Linked DNA regions of Homo sapiens: regions 2 and 3 are each linked to region 1. The links are contacts of gene promoters, found by promoter capture Hi-C in human tissues and cell types (Jung and others, 2019). All regions are on one chromosome and are shown on one strand. Each heading gives the region's core, a stretch centred on a gene start or on the middle of the fragment in contact. The rest is flanking DNA. Distances are from core to core; before and after follow the strand shown.

What was found. Contacts are between HindIII fragments. The study calls those that stand out against the background at their distance.
Region 2: a contact is called between the fragment with the promoter of ELP6 here and a fragment that was not itself captured in region 1, in 2 of the 25 tissues and cell types used here (adrenal gland and lymphoblastoid cells).
Region 3: a contact is called between the fragment with the promoter of ZNF589 here and a fragment that was not itself captured in region 1, in 4 of the 25 tissues and cell types used here (adrenal gland, aorta, dorsolateral prefrontal cortex and 1 more).

Annotation. Positions count from the first base shown.
Region 1 is chr3:47,889,004-47,892,037 of GRCh38, forward strand. All of the region lies in intron 10 of MAP4 (microtubule associated protein 4), which reads right to left. Among named protein-coding and RNA genes, the nearest start is that of MIR1226, 41 kb to the left of the region's middle. The HindIII fragment of the contact is 3,896 bases long and covers 1-3,034 here.
Region 2 is chr3:47,512,073-47,515,106 of GRCh38, forward strand. It overlaps ELP6 (elongator acetyltransferase complex subunit 6), which reads right to left and starts at 1,640. Exons shown (of 7, transcript NM_001031703.3): 1 at 1,465-1,640. The coding sequence starts at 1,518. RefSeq lists enhancers at 1,055-1,164, 1,495-1,604. The HindIII fragment of the contact is 13,702 bases long and covers 1-3,034 here.
Region 3 is chr3:48,239,655-48,242,688 of GRCh38, forward strand. ZNF589 (zinc finger protein 589) reads left to right here and starts at 1,450. Exons shown (of 4, transcript NM_016089.3): 1 at 1,450-1,560. The coding sequence starts at 1,518. RefSeq lists enhancers at 605-899, 1,217-2,134, 1,325-1,619. The HindIII fragment of the contact is 6,944 bases long and covers 1-3,034 here.

The DNA.
Region 1 (3,034 bases), core at 203-2,702:
ACATCGGAACCCTGACATATATGGTGGTAACAAAGCTGGCCACAGAGCTCAAACCATGGCAACTCAATGCTATTCTGTCCTGGGCAGAGTTACAAGGGAAGCAAAAAGAGATGACAGAGGAAATACAGATTTTTAAAGGGAAGAGAATGGAGTACATGTGCAGGGAGAAGCAGAGGTCCCAAGAGAGATATACACAATGGCAGCAGCCTGGCCACATTTCCTGTGACTGGATGCCCTGAGATTCCTCCATTGTTCTTTTACCTAACATGAGCTGTCTAGGCTTCATATCTTTGTTTAATATGAGTTCCCTTGCCTGGAAGGCTTTCCCTCCGCATTATTTGGCATCCCAGGGTTCCAAGGCCCACCTCAAATGTGACTTCCTCCAAAATGTTTCCACAATTCACAACCCTCCCACTGCCTCCCAGTCCTCCAACTGGATCAAAAGTTGCTTGAGGATAAGGATAATTTCCAGTGCCTAGATAGTGAATGCAAATGGTAGGCATGTTAAATGAAACAATCTTCCTATAAAAGTTTTATCTACAGAGTGGTTAGCAGAGTCAGCATTTAAACATTTATCGGGTGAATGGATCGGTGGATTTGTCAGTCATCTGAAATTTTTTTCTATTAGCACAAACTTCTGTTAGTCTGAATTAGAAAGAACTTGTTCTGAAACAAAGTCTTCACTCATGATCACCTAGAAGTTATGTGGTACTGAACAAAGCACCTGGGGATCAAGAAAAAGATGACAAAGTCCTGTCCAGGAAGAGCTTACAGTTCTGTCCCAGCTAGAAGGAAGCAACAGCATGGGACACCTGAATGCTTGTAATTCTGGAGTCATAAGAAATCAAAGAGGAACTATTAAGCTTCTTTGCCTCCATAAAAAAACGTGTTTTTTATCTCCATAAAAAACAAAAAATGTTTTTTATCTCCATAAAAAAAAAAAACCCAAAACATCTGTATGTCTTCTACTTACCACTCCCCTAGAAAATACCATTTCTTACTTTCAAAGAAAAAAAGTACAATTTCATAAAAATATACTGAGAGTAATAAATATTAGAGAAAACAGGTCCCAGGAAACAAGACTATTTTTTTTTAAACAAGCAAAACACATGTTTTAAATCCCCATTTACAAGTTTGTGAATTATGGCCCTTTGTGCTCAAACTGGACTCGGAGAAACACAAGCTTTTTTAGACCACCACAATAAGAGCTGTGGGGGGATGGGAGATGGGGAAGAAAAGAAAGGGCCAGGAAGAAAGACACAAAAGGCTGTCACAAAGACCGCAAAATTTAGCTGTTTATTAGGTTGCAAGTCTCTCCTTCTCTCCCTGCTTTCTCTTTCTTCTTTTTCTCCCCACAAATCCTCTCAAAACACATACAAAAAGAGAAAACTAGAAGCAAGATTGGGTCAAACATGAAGAACACAGAAAGAATATTAAATAGCTAGCTTTAAAGGGCTCTTTTTCAGTTTGAACAAAAGTAAAACGTTCTCCAAAGCAAAAACAGAAAACAGAGCTTCCACCCAGATTGTGCAACTTAATGAGAGGAGGTTAGTGCTGATAAACCCATTGTGAATCTATATAAAGTGACAGATTTTCAAGCAAGGAAATCAATCAGTTGGGATTGAAGGATTTAGAGCTCAGGAATCATCTGGTTCAAACCAACAGGGAGCTGAGGGCTGGGTGGATGGGGGATGGGTTGGACAGGGTGACATGAGGTCAAGAAAGGGGGTCTAGTTTTTATACCCACCATTCTCTGACCCCATTCCACCCCAAACTTGCACACTCAATTCACATTATCTGTCATGCTAGCAAGACATTCAGCTTGACCCTGCAAGATTCACTTTGTTCTCTTCCTTGCCTCACTCCCAGCAAGCTTCCAACACAAGGGAATTAAGCTTTCCCCAGGCAGTCACAGAACCCAGCTGTAAAAAGCTGCTTAGTGCTCTGCCGGTAATCTGTCACTTTGGTTCCTTCCTTGCTGTCTGCTTGTTCCCAATGGAGGCAAAATTTAGAAACATACCATCACGTGGGGGCTTTTCAAACAGGAACGATGGAGTGCTCTGGGTTGCAGTGACCTCAATTTCTTTCTTCCCTGCCAGAGCCGTCTGTCCTGGCTGTTTCTCTCCTCGCTGGCAAACCTGCGAGCATGAATCAATTCTAGTTTCACTAAAATCTTCCTGCCCTTTTTCCTTGCTGCTTCCTTCAGGAATCTGCTCCAGCTTACTATGGAGATATAATCCAGCAGTGCCGAGTTCCTTCTTCCCAGAGTTGCTGCTGCTGTTGCTGAAGTGAGCCAATTCTTCTCTCTTCTTGGCCACTGGTTCCTCACAGATGAAAGGAGGTATCTCTTTAGTAGACAAGATGGGCAGTTTCCCAGGGCTCAATTTGTAGCTAGCTGTCTGTTCCTCACCCACAGTCATGGAGCGCTTCATAGCAGGAGCTCCCAGTTTCCCAGGTGTAGGACTAGGCATTGGGCTACTAGGGGGAGGCAGCAGGCCAGAAGAAGGCTCTTCTCGGGCAGGGAGTTCAGGGTACTTATCTGCAAGGTTGACAGCTGGGGGAACTGAGAGGTGAGAACATTCAGACAGGGCCCTGCGCACTGCCTTTTTCTGCTGGGGGGCTTGGTTGAGCACAGCCTCCTCGGTAGAACTCAATTTCTCCAACTCCTTATCATGGTCTCTGATGTGACAGCTTGCATTCAAATGTTCCTGGGTGAACACCATAGTGATTGGCGGAATGGTGGTGGGTGAATGCTCAATAATGGGGGCTGGGTGGGCTAGAGACACCAGGAGTGGGGACTCACACTTCAGCTGCTCAGAGTTATCATTTACCACCCCAATCACTGGGCAGCCAGGGGTGATGCTATTCTCCATCTCTCCCGGAGTTGCTTCCCTTGAGCCCAGAGAGCCTTGAGCCACTGGATGAAAGCTGGGGTTCCAAACACTGGTTTCCTGCTCCTTAACATATCTGGTAGGGATGTCAGCAGCCCCAGGGAAATCCAGATCTGACTGGCTCTTGGTCTCTAGTCCATTCT
Region 2 (3,034 bases), core at 390-2,889, 380 kb before region 1:
ACTGGCAAGGTAATCAGAGTCATCTGGACAAGAACTGCCTGGCAACTAAAATCCACAAGGATCTACTGAAAGCTACAATTTGGCGCTATGGGGTCATAAAAAGGCTTTAGACACTTAGTATCCTGGTTGCCTGGAGGAGTTTACCATTTCATTAGGAAGACAAAGATTATGAATAAACCAGGCTGGGCGTGGTGGCTCACGCCTGTAATCCCAGCACTTTGGGAGGCAGAGGCGGGCGGATCACCTGAGGTCAGGAGTTCCAGACCAGCCTGGCCAACATGGTGAAACCCCGTCTCTAACAAAAAATACAAAAAAAAATCAGCCAAGTAATTAGCCCGGTGTGGTAGCGCACGCCTGCAATCCCAGCTACTTGGGAGGCTGAATAAGGAGAATCACTTGAACCCGGGAGGTGAGGTTGCAGGGAGCCGAGATCGCGCCAGTGCACTCCAGCCCAGGCGAGGGAGCGAGACTCCATCAAAAATAAATAAATAAATAAATAAGCCAAAAGATACACTCCTGAAAGAGGTTACTCCTACGTTAAAATGTGAAAGGTTTCAAGGTACCCCGGAGTGTGAGGAGGGTGGAGAGAACAGGCCAGCCTGGGGTGCCCAAGACGGACTTGGTCCAAGCCAATTTGGCTCTGTCCTGCTTCTAACAGTTCTATTAGAGATCACAAGGAGGAAGAGTAAGAAGAACAGCAGCGTTCAATACAATGTGCCAATTGCTCCGGGGCGAGGTGGCGGTTAGGAAGCTCGCCCATGAAGACGGCGGCGAAACGAACTCCCCTCTCCTCTCGGGCCTATTCTGCAGTCTCCTCTGAGCGCCTGGGACCCCCCACCCCAGTGAACATGCACAGCGCGCCACAGTTCACGTCCGCGAATATAACCCAACCCCACTGTCGGCCATGCTTCCCAGGTACTTTTTTTTTTTTTTTTTGAGGTGGAGTCCCGCTCTGTCGCCCAGGCTGGAGTGCGGTGGCGAGATCTCGGGTCACTGCAACCTCCGCCTCCCGGGTTCAAGCAATTCTCCTGTCTCAGCCTCCCGAGTAGCTGAGATTACAGGCATGAGCCACCACGCCCGGCTAATTTTTGTATTTTTCGTAGAGACGGGGGTTTCACCATCTTGGCCAGACTTGTCTCGAACTCTTGACCTTAGATGATGCACCCGCCTCGGCCTCCCAAACTGCTGGGATTACAGGGGTGAGCCACCGCGCCCGGCCGCTTCCCAGGGACTTTTAAGGACACGCACAGCCGTTGAGAATATGCGAGATGGCCCAGAAGCCCACTTTCGGCGGGCCCAAGCCTCCAGTCCAATCCCCGGGTCGATCCTCTGCGGACTACAACTCCCAGGTACCCCGTGCCGGGTCGTCGCGCCATTCCCCGGGGTCGTGCGCACCGCCTCCCGGATGCAGTATTCCGCTGCCCTGCCAGGTCCCGCCCCCTTCCGGCCAGCGGGACCTCTTACCTGCTCCGCCCTGTCGGGGGTGGTGTTAAGCAGGTTATTAAGTTCCACGAACATTCCGAGCTCCTGGGACTAGCGCTCTGGAGGAGAACCCGGAGTGCTGCAGAGACGACGGAGGCTGGAGAGCAAAACACACCCGACAGCCCGGCTCGCGCAAGGAAGCGCGCATGCGCAATGCCACTTTTGCGAGCCAGCCACAGCCAATGAGGCGGGTGCCTCGATGGGACCGCTGCGCACGCGCGTAGACGTCCGTCGAGTCCCAGGTGGTAGGAAACGATGGGCTTCTCTGTGCGACTGCCAGCGGCCTCTGGCGGCTCATTCCGCGCAGATCTGCGTGGCGCCCGAGCCCTCCCAGTGGGCCCCCAAGGCTCCACGCGACCGAGTATTCTTCTTCCCTTGGCCTCGCTCTCTGCCCAGCCCCGGGCTCCTTTTCTCCACACGTGGCTGTCAAGCGCCTTCTGTATGCCCCACACTCCTGGGAGCTTGGGCTACATCGATGAACAAAAACAAAGGACAGGGAATTTATTATTATTATTATTATTATTATTATTATTATTATTATTTAATTGAGACGGAGTCTTGCCCTGTCGCCCAGGCTGGAGTGCAGTGGCGCGATCTCGGCTCACTACAGTCTCCGCCTCCTGGGTTCACGCCATTCTCCTGCCTCAGCCTCCCGAGTGTAGCTGGGACTACAGGCGCCCGCCACCACGCCCGGCTAATTTTTTGTATTTTTAGTAGAGACGGGGTTTCACCGTGTTAGCCAGGATGGTCTTGATCTCCCGACCTCGTGATCCGCCGGCCTCGGCCTCCCAAAGTGCTGGGATTACAGGCATGAGCCACCACGCCCGGCCGACACGGAATTATATCTTGAAAAGTTGTGTGGAGAAAAGCAAAGTGGGATTAGAGAGTACCAATGGGGGCAGGGGTAGGTTCCAGAATTAAAGAGGTTGTCAGGGTGGGTCTCACTAAGAAAGTGTGGTTGCGGCTGGGCGCGGTGGCTCACACCTGTAATGCCAGCACTTTGGGAGGCCTAGACGGAGGGATCACGAGGTCAGGAGTTCGAGACTAGCCTGGCCAATATAGTGAAACCCCCTTCTCTATTAAAAATACAAAAAATTAGCCTGGCGTGGTGGGGGGCGCCTGTCATCCCAGCCACTCGGGAGGCTGAGCCAGTAGAATCGCTTGAACCTGGGAGGCAGAGGTTGCAGTAAGCCGAGATCACGCCATTGCTCTCTAGCCTGGGCAGCAGTGTGAGACTTCGTTAAAAAACAGTGTGGTTGCAACACGCCCTGTATGCCTGTCCTCAGAGCCTTTATACTAACTCTTCCCTCTTCCTGGAATGCCCCTTTTCCCAGATATTAAGCTGATTTTAAAATTCCCCACTTCCTTCAGGTCTCTGCTCCGATGTCACTTTATTCGTGAGGCCTTCCCTGAGCACCTTACTTAAATCACAAACTGTCCCTTTCCCAACACTTCTTTTTCCTTGCTTTTATTTTTTTCCATAACATTTATATCTATTATACCGTATATAGTTTTGTTCTAGCCCAATCAGCCTCAGATCAGTGGACAAACC
Region 3 (3,034 bases), core at 200-2,699, 350 kb after region 1:
AAAAAAGAGTAATTGGGGAAGTTGTGCTTCAAAAGAGTAATTGGGGAAGTTGTGCGTCTTAGGGCCTCTGGAATAATGGCTGGTAATATTTAGAATTCCAGCCCTTCTCATCCTAATTTGGTGGCTGGTGGCCTTTCATTCATTTTACAAGAACAGTTTAGCCCTTGGGAAGGGCTATTATTTAAGCTATAAACTGAATTCCTTCCCAAGGCTACTTTGGCCTATGCCCAGAAGTGGACAAAGACAGTTTAGAGGTTGAAAGGAAGATGAGGTGGGTTAGATCTGATATCTTTTACTGTCATTGATAAGGCTCTGATGACTGGAGGAACACCAGGGTCCTTGGTCTCTGATAGGCTTAATAACACAGACACACGTGGAGTGGTTTTAAGGAGCGAAAAGTTTAATAGGCAAGAAAGAAGGAAGGAAGACGAAAACAGCTCCCCCATACAGAGACAGAGGGAGCGGGGATTCCAACAAAGAGAAAGCGCCGTGTGCGGAAAAGTGGCTGCTTATCTGAGGATGCTGGAGGAGGCGGTGTCTGGTTTCCATAGGGCTCAGGGGATTAGTTTGATCAGATGTGTCATTTATGTGGCAGCCAAAAACCTGGCCCTCCCACCCTAGCTTTTTAATATGCAAATGTAGGGCTCCATGAAGTTCTACACACGTGGGAATATGTGGGGGGTGGCCATGTTGCCAGGCACATGTCAGGGCAAAGAAAAGGACGGCGGGAATCGCCATGTTTGGGTGCGTCCAGTTTCTAATGGCCTGTATTTCCATATCAAAGCTTGCCATCCTGCTCTAGGAGCCCAGGCTTTCCTGCTAGACAAGAAACCTTTCTGGAGCTGCTTTAAAAGAAACAAAAACTTCCCAAGGACCCCTTTCCTTCTCTATCTGCTTAAAATAATTTCTTAATAACTCCTATAACATCATAATTTCCTTAGGTATAATTTTGCAAAGGCGGTTTCAAAAGCTCTTTGGGGTCCTCAGTAATTTTTAAGAGTGTAAAAGGATTTTAACAACAACAAGTTTGCGAACCACTGTCCTTGAGAAGCTCTCCATGGATGCGCATGAGTCTGTCCAATTGGAGTCCTGGTGTATTTCTACATTAGATACCACACAGCAGTGAACACACAATGAACAGGTCAACACGTGTCATTATAGAACTGCGCAAAAGAGCTAGTAGCAGGCATTGTAAGTGTATTTATATAATGTTTACAACCATGGAAAACAACACTATATTTTGCTTATGGGTACCTGTGGTAAGCACAACCCCAAATATTGCGGCCGAGGGGGACCTAGAAGGTCAAAGTGCGCCTCAGCATTTTCTCTCGCCCTGCACAAGCCGCATTTCGCCCCGAGAACTACGCTTCCCGGCAGGCTGCGCGCCGCGCGGTGACGCACTTCACCCAGTCCTGCTTCTTTCTTCTGGCGCCGCCAGTGGCCCGCGGTGCGCATTCTAATCCGTTTCACACACGGTGCTGCTACCTCGTTTGCTTCGTGCGTGCGTGCGCGCGCAGATGTGGGCCCCGCGGGAGCAGCTACTGGGCTGGACTGCGGAAGGTGAGTCGGGGCCGCGAGATCGCCTCCCCCATTCGGTGCTCCAGCCGCAGGCGCCGCGCAGGCGTCGGCCGTATCCACCAGGGATGCGCGTGGGGTGCGAGCTGTGTGAGGCGCTGACTACCCCTACAGCGGCTCTTACTCCCCTGGGGGGCCAGGTTCCTCCCTAGGTGTCCCGTACAGTCTCCACGGTGCTCACTCCACGACTCTTCACCGGGCATCCTGCACTTGTGCACTCCGGCAGTCATTGGCCATAAATGGCTGCTGAGCATTTGAGATGTGTGGAGTGCAACTGAAGAACAGCATTTTGTATTATTATATTATATCATATTTATTTTGAGACGGAGTCTCGCTCTGTCGCCCAGGCTGGAGTGCAGTGGCGCGATCTCCGTTCACTGCAATCTCCGTCTCCCGGGTTCAAGCAGTTCTCTGCCTCAGCCTGCCGAGCAGCTGGGATTACAGGCGCCCTCCACCACGCCTGGCTAATTTTTGTATTTTTAGTAGAGACGGGGATTTCACCATGTTGGCCAGGCTGGTTTTGAACTCCAGACCTCGTGATCCGCCCACCTCGGCCTCCCAAAGTGCTGGGATTACAGGCGTGAGCCACCGCGCCCGGAGTATATTATATTTTTATATTTTTTGAGTCGGTCCGGAGTGCAGTGGCGGGATCTAGGCTCACTGCAGCCTCCGCTTTCCCAGGCTCAAGTGATTCTCGTGCCTCAGCTTCCGGAGTAGCTGGGATTACAGGCGGCGCCTCACCACCCCGGCTGTTGTATTTTTAGTAGAGAGGGGATTTCGCCATATTTGCCAGGCTGGTCTCGAACTCCTGGCCTCAAGCAATCCACCCACCTTGGCCTCCCACAATGTTGGGATTACAGGTGTTAGCCACCCCACCCGGCCCAAAAGACTTTTTTTTTGGAGACAGAGTCTTGCTCTGTAGCCCAGGCTGGAGTGCAGTGGGCGATCTCTGCTCACTGCAACCTCTTTCTCCCAGGTTCCAGCGATTCTCCTGCCTCAGCCTACCAAGCGGCTGGAATTACAGGGACACGCCACCACGCCCGGCTATTTTTTTGTATTTTTAGTAGAGGCGGGGTTTCATCATGTTGGCCAGGCCGGTCTTGAACTCCTGACCCCAGATGATCCACCTGCCTCGGCCTCCCAAAGTGTTGGGATTACAGGTGGGAGCTACCACACCCGGCCCCAAATGACTTTGGATGTAACAACAGGAACAGTCTAGAACAGGGCTGGGCAAATTTTTTTCTGTTTGGTTTTTTTAGAAACAGGGTCTCCCTATGTTGCCCAGGCTGGTCTCCAACTCCTGGGCTCAAGGGATCCTCCCGCCTCGGTCTCCCAAAGTGCTAGGATTATAGGCGTGAGCCACTGCACCTGGTCTTGCAAACGTTTTCTTTTAAGGGCCAGGTGGTAAATGTTTCAGGCTTTGTAGGCCACACGGTCTTTGTTACGACTAGTGGTCTGC